Regions from separate parts of the Homo sapiens genome. Here regions 1 and 2 are each linked to region 3. The links are contacts of gene promoters, found by promoter capture Hi-C in blood cells and fetal thymus (Javierre and others, 2016). All regions are on one chromosome and are shown on one strand. The core of a region is centred on a gene start or on the middle of the fragment in contact, and the rest is flanking DNA. Distances in the headings are between cores, read along the strand shown. Region 1 overlaps SIGLEC5 (sialic acid binding Ig like lectin 5). Region 2 overlaps ZNF175 (zinc finger protein 175). Region 3 holds the start of SIGLEC12 (sialic acid binding Ig like lectin 12).

Region 1 (3,212 bases), core at 712-3,211, 110 kb before region 3:
AATTACATAATTCCTTATTATGTTTCACATTCATTTTGCATGCACACTTTGTTATTGACAAAGTTTCTTATGCTTGTTTTCATGCTGCTAATATTGCCACATCTTTTTAGTGCATGTAATATGCTCAGTTTAGCTTCTTGACCAAAGCGTCCTAGTACTTGTGCTTCTAGTGGTCTATCAGGTTCTGTTGGTTTGCTTTTCTTCAAAGGTGCCCAGCCTTCTGAGCTGTGAGCTCACATTCCCCTGGGGTTATTGGCTACTCTGGCAGTGTTTCTTGAATGAGGGAAGGGCAGATGCTGGCCTGTGTCAGGCTTACTGAGCCAAAGAAATGACAGGGACGCCGGGCACGGTGGCTCACGCCTATAATCCCAGCACTTTGGGAGGCCGAGGTGGGCAGATCACCTGAGGTCGGGAGTTTGAGGCCAGCCCAACCAACATGGAGAAACTCCGTCTCTACTAAAAATACAAAATTAGCCAGGTGTGGTGGCACATGCCTGTAATCCCAGCTACTCGGGAGGCTGAGGCAGGGGAATCTCTTGAACCTGGGAGGTGGAGGTTGCAGTGAGCCGAGATCATGCCATTGCACTCCAGCCTGGGCAACAACAGTGAAGCATCGTCTCAAAAAAAGAGAAATGACTGGGACAAGCCCCAGGGTGGATCCCCTCAAGAACCCAAACCACACCCAACCAGTCCCACTTCCTATCACCCCAGTAAGGCAGCTTAAGTCATCCCTCCATCTTCAGACCCTCGTGGAGAAGCAACATTGGTCAAGGACTCTCGTTGCATTGTGATCCACCAGCCCTGGGAGTTTGGAGTGGAGAAAATGGCAAGGAGAATGTCAAAGACCAGTGAGCTTCCACCTCCGTTCTCCTTCTCCTCACCCCAGTGGGCCTCTGGTGCTTACCCAACACATGCCTGTTGGACACTGGCACATCATAATCCTGTCCATACTCTGAATTCTGCAGTGAGGGGCAGACAATGTTTGTCCCACTGGAAGGGTAGAGGAGAGAAAGGAGCAGAATTCAAGTATGTTTGGGCTAACCCATCCTCTCAACAAGCCAGCTGTCCCCCCGCCCAGTTCTCCCACCCCTTTTCTTCAAATGAGCCTTAACTTTCCCCTAGGGATATCAGTGTGATTGATTGATCATAAATTGATTTGTAAAGTTTTGTTCACCCAGGAGCTCCATCTTTAGTTCCATCATTGGTAGGTCTTGGAGAACAGAGCCGGTGTATGAATTCACTCTTTTGACAAGAACTATGGTAGAGAGAGCTTTGTTTTCTCCTTTATTTTACCTTTAACCATTCTGCACACTTTCATGCCATAGGCAGAATGGTAAAGCGAGGCACAGCATGGTCCCTGGAGTTTGACGTCCTGCATTCAGGTTCTAGATTCACCCACTTGCAAGCTGTGTGACCTTGGATAAGCTAATGAACCTCTCTGTTTTTTTGTTTTCTCCTATAGAAATTGGGTTATTAATATGCTAGTATCTGTCTCGGATTGTTACAAGGAGTGCTTAGTAAAGTGGCAAGCTCACAGGGAGCTCACTTATAACTGTTACCCAGTATTACTTTTCCTTCTGTCTAACAAGGAACTGCATGACGGGGAGGTATTTGGGTGGTTTCAGTCTGCTTTATGTCCTCATTTATACGAACGGCATCTAGCCCAAAGAAAGCACTCAGCAAAGAGCTATTGAGTGAAAGGGTGAACATACTGCATTGTCCTATTTACTAATCTGAGCTGTGCCTTTTCTTTCAGTTGTCAATTTCACCCTTTTTATTTCATATACCGCACACCTATTGATAGACATATGTCTTTATTTCTTCCTTTGCCTGCATAATGCTGGTGTGCATAGCCACTTTTTCATTTTATTTCATCTTTCTTGTGCCTAATATAAGCAGCTCTCTCCAGAAAGTCTATTTTTTTCTGACACAATGAAGCCATTTTTCCCTAACTGCGGAGTCCTTTTAAAAAAACTGTATGGCCAGGTGTGGTGGCTCACACCTGTAATCCCACCACTCTGGAAGGCTAAGCTGGGCCAGTCGCTTAGCCCAGGAGTTTGAGACCAACCTGGGTAACGTGGCGAAACCCTGTCTTTACAAAAATTAGCTGGGCATGGTGGCTTGTGCCTGTGGTCTCAGCTACTCAGGAAGCTGAGGTGGGAGGATTGCTTGAGCCAGGGACGGGAGGTTGCAGTGAGACGAAATCACACCACTGCCCTCCAGCCTGGATGACAGAGTGAAACTCTGTCTCAAAAAGAAAACTTCTGAGCTACTGTTTGAAGACTCACGTTGCTTTCAACATATTTTCCATAGCGTGATGGGTAGGGATATGGGTGAAGGTGGGAGAGGAAAGAAATTGCTTACTTGTATCTGGTTACCATCTTTGCTGGGGACAGGATCTGCTCCATTTTGTTTCTCTTTCATGGAAACTGGGTCCAGGATCAGAATTGCCATCTCTTTTCTGGTTTGCACATAAGACACCTTGTAACCTATGCCGAAGGTATACATTTGCTTCATCAATAATCCGCTCCTCCTGCCTAGGTCAGGGTCTATGTCTGATTTCTCACACTGTACGTGCCCAGAACCTGAAACAGGGGAGACAGGGCTGAGTTCGAATCCTGGCCTCGCCATGTATTAGATGAATAACCCTGGGCAAGCTACTTAACCTCTCTCCACCTCAGTTTCCCTGTGTGTAAGGTGGGGATAATTAGAATATCTTTTATACTGTTGTGGGTTTTTTTTTGGTGATGATTCAATGTGATTAGTAAGTCCTCAATATGGTCTGATCAATCATAGTATTACAAAATTTTGAAAGAATGAGCGAATAGTTGAGTTCACAGGAAATGTATATGGACAGGTGGGGCCGGGATTTGAACCCAGCCCTGTCTGCCCTGTGCCGGTTCCTGGGCACGTACAGTGTGAGAAATCAGACATAGACCCTGACCTAGGCAGCCTATGGCCTGTCCTTAGGAGGAGTGGATTATAAAAGGATGAATTGATAAATGTCACATCAGCCCAACTTCCCTGTGGGAACCATTTGTTGTATTTTTCTCTTATTTGGTGTTGAGGTCTCTCTTTGGGGAGTGGTCATAAAATCTAGCCCGGCCTTGAATGGGAACCCCAGAGATCTGGCCATCATGTTCACAGTGTGACTTTCACAGAATACTCCTTTATCCTGGCACACCACCTGCTGCCTGAGTGCCCAGCCTGTG
Region 2 (4,499 bases), core at 624-3,123, 85 kb before region 3:
ATCAACTCTGATTTCTGGACAAAAGCCTTCCCACATTTGTAACAGACAAAAGGCCTCTCTCTAGTGTGAGTTATTTGATGTTTATGGAAATTTGACCTGCCGTTGAAGGCCTTCCCACATTCAGTGCACACATAGGGTTTCTCACCCGTGTGAATTCGCTGATGCTCTTTGAATTGAGACTTAGAAGTGAAGGCTTTCCCACATTCACTGCATTTGTAAGGCTTCTCTCCGGTGTGAATTCTCTGATGCATGCTGAGTATTGACTTCTGGTTGAAGGCTTTCCCGCATTCACTGCATACATGGTGTCTTTCTCCAGTATGAATTTTCTGGTGTATATTCAGGTGTGACTTTTGGGTGAAGGTTTTTCCACAGTCACTGCATTCATAAGGTTTCTCCCCTGTATGAATTCGATGATGTATATCAAGCTGTGACTTGGAAATGAAGGATTTCCCACAGTTGTGGCACTGATAAGGTTTTTCTCCTGTGTGGCTTCTTTGATGGACAATCAGGTGTGCCTTCTGGATGAAGGCCTGCCCGCATTCGATACACACATAGGACTTCTGCCCTGAGTGGATTCTCTGGTGCAAGCTGAGTGTTGACTTCTGGGTAAAGGCTTTCCCACATTCACTGCATGCATACTGTCTCTCACCAGTATGAATTTTCTGATGTATAATGAGGGTTGAGTTTTGGGAGAAGCCTTTGCCACATTCACTGCATTCATAGAGTTTTTCTCTACTGTGAGTTCTCTGATGTCTGAAGAGAGATAACATCTGGAAAAAGGCTTTTCCACAGTCATGGCATTTATAGGGCTTCTTTCTAGTGTGTGTTTTCTGGTGCGTAAGCAATTCTGATCTCTGAATAAAGACCTTCCCACATTCCTTGCATATACAGGGTATATCACCTGTATGATCTGTCAGATATACACTGAGTTTTAGTTGTGGCATGAAGGCTTTTCCACATTTGCCACATTCATGGAGGTTTCCTACACTATGAATTCTCTGTTGGGCAAAGAGGTGTGACTTCTGGGTGAAGCTCCCCCCACATTCAGAACATCCATCTGGTTTCTTCTGAGTATGAATTTGATGTTGCTTGAGTGACTGTTTATGGCCACAGACTTTTCTACACTGGTTACCTTTGCAAAATGTCTCTCCTGTATGAATATTCTTGCTGCAGGCATCAGAAGAGCTATGGCTGAATAGCTGACCAGACCCAACAACGTCATCAAGCTGTTCTGTGTCATTGCTTTCATTCTGACCGTTCACTTCTAGGTTCAGCTTCAAACTTTCTGTAAATAAGCAACATTTCTGAGGTTGTTTCTGTGAAGAAGCAAGGTGGGGCCTCGTGCGAATCATTTTCCCAGGGTCCTTATATTCACAATTGCTTTCTGTGTTCAATGTTTTCTTGTTGAAGAAAGCACTGTGACTCATGGGTTGAATTTGATTTTGCTCATCTTTCTTTGTGCGGTCAGCATCCAGCCTCAGTTCTTCTAAAATGGAACACCATGAACCATCTCTTGTGAACTCACCTACCATATCCTTTTGAAATGAAGCTTTCTTAGAAATCTCCTTTTGTGGGATTTCAAGCCCAAACTCCCTTTCTAAAAGGAGAAAGAGAAGATGAAATAGACACAATGAACAAGAAAGAGGAGAAACTGCATGAAGCTGATTGACACAGAACACAAGGAAATTGCTGAGTCATGTAATAATGCTGCTAATGATGCTGACAATGAGCAGAAACACAGAGCCCTTATTACATGATGAGCATTTATCTACATAGCACTTAGCATGTGCCAGGCAGTGGCCTACATGGTGCACACATACTCATTTAATCTGCATAATAACCTCAGGAGGTAGCGATGATGGGTGTTCCTGTTTTACAAAGAAAAGGAAGCACATAATGGTTATGTAATTGGCCAAGATCACTTTGCTAATCTGTGGGGATTAGATTTCAACAACCTGAGGACACTTATGCAAGTGGTCTAGACACCCAGATCTAGTAGGATGAGTAGGATAAAACAGACAAGTGTTGCAGGGCAACATGTGTGGGCAGCCAAGGCTTGAAGGAGGGGGCTCAGTGTGTAGGTCTTCATTAACTTTCAGAGATGAATCCTCACCAATCTGCCTGCTTTATCTTACTTGTTAGAAACAATGCCAAGTCCATCAGCCCTGTATATCCTTCTGAAAACTATTAAAGCTTCACCTATCTTGACATGGCCAACCAGTGAAAGAATGACTATGCCTCAACTCTCCTATGCCTCAACTCTCCATGAAGCTACAATTTTTTTTTCTTGAACTTAGGAATATACCCATATCCCCAGAAATATATTCTAAAAGACTGGACAAGCAAGCTGTTCCCCAGAATTTGTTTCACCCTTGTTCCATTGAAATTAATTGTTCTTTGTTAGAACTTTTGGCTTTATGCTATCAAATATGCCTTTTTTAGTTTAGTTTTTTGTTTTGTTTTGTTTTTTTGCCAAGAATAAGAGTCCCTGATCATCCTGTGCACTTTACTAGTATACTGCACAAAACACAGCAGGTTCTCAATAAAAATAATAGTTACTAAATTTTACTATTACTTTTTCTACCAGATTTTAATACTGAGTATGAACATCACATGTAGTTTCTTTTCGCTTTCAGTCACTTAAACTGTATCCCAGACTCTTGTCCTATCAAAAAAACTCAATCATCTTTCATTCTTTTTTTAAAAAAAGGACACTTTTAATCTTTATTGTTAACTTTTTCTTATTGTAGCAAAAGTGCATAATATTACATTTACCATCTTGCCCATTTTGTATTGTACAGTTCAGTAGTGCTACCTGTATTCACCCTGTTGTGCAATGGATCTCCAAAACTTTTACATCTTGCAAAACTGAAATGCTGTATCCATTAAACAATTTCCCTTTTCCCCCATCCCTCATTCTCTGGCAGCCACAATCTTATTCTGTCTCTATGAATTGACTACTTAAAGTACCTCATACAGGTAGAATGATACATTTGGATTTTTTGTGTCTGGCTTATTCACTTAGCATCATGATAAGATTCATCCGCACTGCAACATGTTTCATAATTCCTCTTCCTTTTTAAGGCTGAATAATATTTCATTGTATGTATAGACCACATTTTGTTTACCAATTCATTGGTCAATGGACAATTCCACTTTTTGGATATTGTGAATAGTGCTGCTATGAACAAGAGTGTACAAACAGCTGTTTGGGTCCTTGCTTTCAATTCTTGTGGGTATCTACCCAGAAGTGGAGTTGCTGGATCATATGGTAATTTTATGTTTAATTTTTGAGAAATCATCATCCTGTTTTCCATAGGACTACACCATTTTACATTCCCACTAGTAATACACAAGGATTCCAGTTTCTCTATATCCTTGCCAACACTTGTTATTCTGTTTTTTTAATTGTAGCCATTCTAATGGATGTAAAGGGATATCACCCAGTGGTTTTGATTTGCATTTCCCACATAATTAGTGAAGTTGAGCATTTTTTCCTATTATTGGCCACTTGTATATCATCTTTGAAGACATGTCTATTCACATCCTTTTCCCACTTATTAAAATAGGTTGTTTTCTATTTCATTTTTCACTCTTAAATAGCAATTTTACCCATATACAGGTGGTCATTTATTCTGGCAATCTTCCACTGTGTCCCCAGGCAGCGATCTGAAACATTTTTAACTTCTCACTTTATTCAGGTCATAAAAATCTTGCTGAACCTGGTAACACTTAAATTACTGCCCAAAATGTTCAATGTAAACTATCAGAACTGTACTGAAAAGCTTTTCCACAACTCTCCAACACAGCCTAACAATGTCGATTGCAAAAAAGAAGTCCAATTTATTCTCAAATCCAAGCACACTCTCATGTCCTCTATTCCCATTAAGCTTGCTTCATCTGCTTCTTTGTTTCAATTCAAAATGGCTTCTTGAACCAGTTATAGGTACTATGCCCTTAAAATTAATTCCCAATGTCACTCCACCTCTAGGCTGACATCATTTTTCTGAACTTCACCAGCATTTGCTATCCATGCTTCCCATGTTGATACACTTACTTTTTGAGTAGCCTTCCATGAAATAGACATGATTGATGCACAAAGGCTAATACTTTTAACATTTAATGCCATTGTCCTCTCCATCCAAATACAATCTCCGTTCTTTTGAATTTATCTCAGCAAATATTTAAAGCATCCTTTTAAAATACTGTGAAATATTCTTTTCTGCCCATTTTCAGAAAATCAGTAATTTCTGTATCCTAAATACAAAAATCCTAATCCTATATCTTAAATACAATGGTTTCCTCATGCTAAACATTGATATAATGAAGATTAAGAAAGTACAAAGTAATCAGCAGAGTGTATGCAAAGTGAATCATTCTATGGAGTAGACATTAAACAACATACAAAAACAATGGAGCAGAGCATGAGTGATGAAAACTATTCAGGTATATTTTTAAATTGGAAATATGTGGCCATGAGGACAATATCACTGAAAAGA
Region 3 (4,485 bases), core at 1,621-4,120:
TGAGCATATGCTGTTAGAAGCAACCAGGCCATGTCTTCAATGCTTTGCTTCTTAGACATTTCTTCCACGAGATACTGAAAATCTTCACTCTTGTGCTCAAAGCTCCACAGATTCCTAGGGCAGGGGCACAATGCAGTGAAGTTCTTTGCTAAGGCATAACAAAATGGACCATCGCTCTGGTTTCCAATAAGTTCCTCATTTCCGTCTGAGACCTCTTCAGCTTGGCCTTCACTGTCCATATCACGACCAATATTTCAGTCATAACTATTCAACCAGTCTCTAGGAAGTTTCAAACTTTCCTTCATCTTTCTGTCTTTTTGTGAGCTCTCCACACTCTTCCAACTTTTGCCTGTTAACCAGTTCCAAAGTTGTTTTCAAATTTTCAGGTGTCTTTGTAGCAATGCCCCACTCCTCTGTACCAATTTTCTGTATTAGTTCATTCTTCCATTGATATAAAGAAATACCTGTGACTGGGTAACTTATAAAGACAAGAGGAATAATCGGCTCGTGGTTCTGCAGGCTGTACAGGAAGCAGGATGTTGACATCTGCTTGGCTTCTGGGGAGTTCCTCAGGAAACTTACAATCATGGCAAAAAACAAAGGGGAAGCCAGCATGTCACATGGCCAGAGTAGCAGGATAGAGCAAATGGGGAGATGCTGCACACAGACAACAAGCAGATCTTGTTAGAACTCACCCACTCTCACAAGAACAGCTCCAAGAAGATGGTGCTAAGCCATTCATGAGAAATCCACCCCCGTGATCCAACCACCTCCCACTACAACCCACCTTCAATATTGAGGCCTATAATTCGGCATGAGATTTGGTGGGGACACAGATCCAAACCATATCAGGCTCTAATCCTATTAGGCTAATCCAAACCACCTATCTAAACACCATGCCTTCTAATACTATCACATGGGGGTTCAAAGGTCAACAAATGAATTTTGAGGAGAGACATGTAGCTGTAGCACTTGTCACTCTGGTCCTTAATATCTTCCTCTCCAAATTATGGAAGTGGGTCTAGAGGGCCCATCAGCTCCTCTGAGTCATATGTGGTTCAAACGTTCTTCCTTTGCAGATTCTCTGTGGCTTCCTCATGTCTCTCCTTCCCATTTTTCTGCTTTTCTTTGCCAACTGGGGACTGTGGGAAAGAGATGGGCCGTGGTCGAGCCCTTCTTCCCATTGAGATGCTGCAACTGTCCTTACGGGAAGAAAGTGACACGGCAAGGATGGGGGCCCAGGAGCAGATTGGTCTGCAGGATGAGATACAAGCTGCAAATGCAGGAATTAGTGGTGTCAGGGAGAGGAGCAGCTATGCATGCCCCAATCCTGCACATTTCCTTTTCAATTATCACAGCCAACTGACTCTACTCCAGGTTATGGGCAATTGGGGACAACATGGGGATGGGAAGATCCATGGAGCTGAGTAAAATAAAACAGATTGTGGTTTTTATGTAAAAATAGTCTTTAGAAAAACCTATGCAAAGCCATAGTATTGAAGGCAGTGCACTCAGATGATAAAACTACATAGAAAAGCAAGGAGACCATTATCATTAAAGTGAGGCTGGGGCATCTTCAGGAGGAACTGCATGTGGCCTATAGGAAGGGGAAACACAGGGCTGAATAAATGAATGCAATTTCTTTCTTCATCTCATGGGAGAAATTTGGCAATTATCTTGTGATGTTCTATTTCTTGAACAGTGATAATTTGGTGAAAATCACTGAGTCATTTTTTTAGGTGGCACTTTTATTTACTTGTATTACATTTCCCCAAAAATCATTGTTTCAAGAAAAGCTGACATGGGTCTAAGGAGGGCGAATCTTGCAGGATTTTCCCCACCTTCCTCCCAGTACATAGCATACAGTTTCAAAAACTCTTCTGCTGAATTCAGGTGCATTTCTTCTCCCATGAAATCCTGTCCATCATTGAGCGTGGACACGCCAGGGCTGGTGTCCTCGCTCCACGTCTCCTGTTCACCTGAAACCCTGGGAGCAGAGCCTGCAGGAACAAAGGGCCAGCAGACCCCTCATGCTCTGGAGTAAGGAGGACTTGTGAGAGAGCAGTGGTGAAGGATCCCATCCTGAACCCAGAGAGCCATGGCCGAGAGAGAAACGCCTGCCCCTTTAGAAATCTGTCCCTTCCCATCCAACATTCCTCCCTTCCAGACCTCACTGTACAACAGTCACAGCCTTAGCTTCTCAGGCCTCCTGTGAACTGGGCTCTTCTCTGTGTCTTTGGTGTGTATCAACACACGGAATCCTCACCTCCACGACCCCGTGTCTCTCTGCTCAGTCCTCCCGAGACTGATTCCCCAACATAGGAGAGAGCGACCACACCCTGCCTGGTACCCCCACTGAAGCTCCTGCCATGGAGAGCTCAGATATCAGGAGCCTCAGTGTCTCCCCACTACACAGTGACTCTTTGGGGACAGTGTCTAGCTCTGCTGTGTTGAACTCCACCTCACGGCCGCTGAGGGAGGAAGGAGAGGTTGCCTGCTCATCCCACCTGCACCCCCATCTCTTATATCCTAGTGTCACCTCTGACCTACAGAGAGACATCCACAGCCTGTACTTCATAGGTCTGGCCACATGGGACTCATTTTCACCTTATGGAAAATATCACCCAAGGGGAAGGGCACTGAGAGGGAGGCAGTGGGCGGGGTGGGCCCTGCATGGGGTTGGAATCTGGGTGAGTCTTTCATCCTCTCTGGCCTCAGGGTCCCCAGGAGTGGACGGGGTAGTGGACGGTGGATCTTCCAGGGGTGACCCGGCCCTGACAGTGTCTGTGTGTGAAGTTCCTCCTGTGAGGTCACCGTTCAGAACCCACCCCCAACTTCCTGTGCGGCTTCCTCGAAATCTTGAGTTCTCAGTTCCTGAGAGAAGAACCCTGAGGAACAGACTTACCTCAGCAACCCTGGCACCTCCAACCCGACACATGCTACTGCTGCTGCTACTGCTGCCACCCCTGCTCTGTGGGAGAGTGGGGGCTAAGGAACAGAAGGATTACCTGCTGACAATGCAGAAGTCCGTGACGGTGCAGGAGGGCCTGTGTGTCTCTGTGCTTTGCTCCTTCTCCTACCCCCAAAATGGCTGGACTGCCTCCGATCCAGTTCATGGCTACTGGTTCCGGGCAGGGGACCATGTAAGCCGGAACATTCCAGTGGCCACAAACAACCCAGCTCGAGCAGTGCAGGAGGAGACTCGGGACCGATTCCACCTCCTTGGGGACCCACAGAACAAGGATTGTACCCTGAGCATCAGAGACACCAGAGAGAGTGATGCAGGGACATACGTCTTTTGTGTAGAGAGAGGAAATATGAAATGGAATTATAAATATGACCAGCTCTCTGTGAATGTGACAGGTAAGGCACGGGCTCCAAGAGAGGCCAAAGGCAAATGTGATGAGGGCTTTAGGGCACGGCTGAGACGGGACACATGTCCTGGGAGGGGGCCGGGGGTGATGGACTCAGGGGAGGAGCTGGACCAGAGCCTGAGCTTCCCCAGGACCGCACCTTGGATGCCCCTCCTGATCCTGCAAGCCCCTCCCCTCACCAGCCCTGACCCACAGGCCTGACATCCTCATCCTGCCTCTGACGCTGGCACTGTGGCATGTGGGGCCTTATGACTCCTTGTTTTGGGGCCTGTCCTAGGCATGGCCGGGGTTTAGCACCATCCCAGGCCTCTCCCCACCAGATGCCAGAAGCACCCACCCCACCCATGCAGCGAGACAATTATCTCCACACATTGTCAAACGTCCTGGGGGGTTAAGTCCTCCCCAGTTGAGAGCCTTAGGTCTACACAACCCCGTGACTCTCTCAGGCCAGGCCAGGGAGGAAGCACTTCCTGGCGCAAACCAAGGGCAGCAGAGGCACCTGAGCCTGGACAGGGAGACTCAGCACACGGCCCCTCCATCTCTCATGCCCCGAGGTCCTCGGAGATCCACATTTAGATGCTCAAAAGACAGGAGGGACCTCCACGATGGTCCAGAGGCCGGGAGGGCAGGACCTACGTGTCTGGTGCAGGCCCTGGTGCTTCAGGGAAGCCCGGAGGTAGGAGGCGGGACACGGTCTCTTCTCCTCCCTGGGTGGGTCTCTAGGGTCTCTGAGCTTTAGGGTTTCCTTCACTCTGTGCAGAGGGAATGAGTTCCTATAGCATGTGGGTTTGCAGTTTCTCTTCCATGCAGGGCTGAGGTCTCCAGCTCCTCTCCAGCCCCCTGTGGGTCCCACAGCCCTGCCCCTCCTCTCCCTCCCCCTTCTCTGCTCACACAGGGAGCCCAGGAAGCCTCTGCCTCAGAGATGCTGCTGCCCCTGCTATGGGCAAATGAAGAGAGGGACAGTGGGGGCTGGGCTGACCCTCGTTTCTCCACAGCGTCCCAGGACCTACTGTCAAGATACAGGCTGGAGGTGCCAGAGTCGGTGACTGTGCAGGAGGGTCTGTGTGTCTCTGTGCCCTGCAGTGTCCTTTACCCCCATTACAACTGGACT

What was found. Contacts are between HindIII fragments. The CHiCAGO score rates a contact against its expected background, and 5 or more counts as called.
Region 1: a fragment that was not itself captured here is called in contact with the fragment with the promoter of SIGLEC12 in region 3 in 1 of 17 cell types (erythroblasts); the score reaches 6.1 in erythroblasts.
Region 2: a fragment that was not itself captured here is called in contact with the fragment with the promoter of SIGLEC12 in region 3 in 1 of 17 cell types (erythroblasts); the score reaches 6.3 in erythroblasts.

Annotation. Positions count from the first base shown.
Region 1 is chr19:51,613,202-51,616,413 of GRCh38, reverse strand. All of the region lies in intron 8 of SIGLEC5 (sialic acid binding Ig like lectin 5), which reads left to right. LOC124904753 (a long non-coding RNA gene) reads right to left here. Exons shown (of 3, transcript XR_007067313.1): 2 at 2,365-2,585; 3 at 698-990. Among named protein-coding and RNA genes, the nearest start is that of SIGLEC5, 16 kb to the left of the region's middle. RefSeq lists a silencer at 598-747. The HindIII fragment of the contact is 7,305 bases long and covers 1-3,212 here.
Region 2 is chr19:51,583,725-51,588,223 of GRCh38, reverse strand. ZNF175 (zinc finger protein 175) reads right to left here. Exons shown (of 5, transcript NM_007147.4): 5 at 1-1,597. Among named protein-coding and RNA genes, the nearest start is that of LINC01530, 8.4 kb to the left of the region's middle. RefSeq lists a silencer at 332-532. The HindIII fragment of the contact is 644 bases long and covers 1,552-2,195 here.
Region 3 is chr19:51,500,185-51,504,669 of GRCh38, reverse strand. It overlaps SIGLEC12 (sialic acid binding Ig like lectin 12), which reads left to right and starts at 2,870. Exons shown (of 8, transcript NM_053003.4): 1 at 2,870-3,363; 2 at 4,370-4,485. The coding sequence starts at 2,937. The HindIII fragment of the contact is 28,149 bases long and covers 1-4,485 here.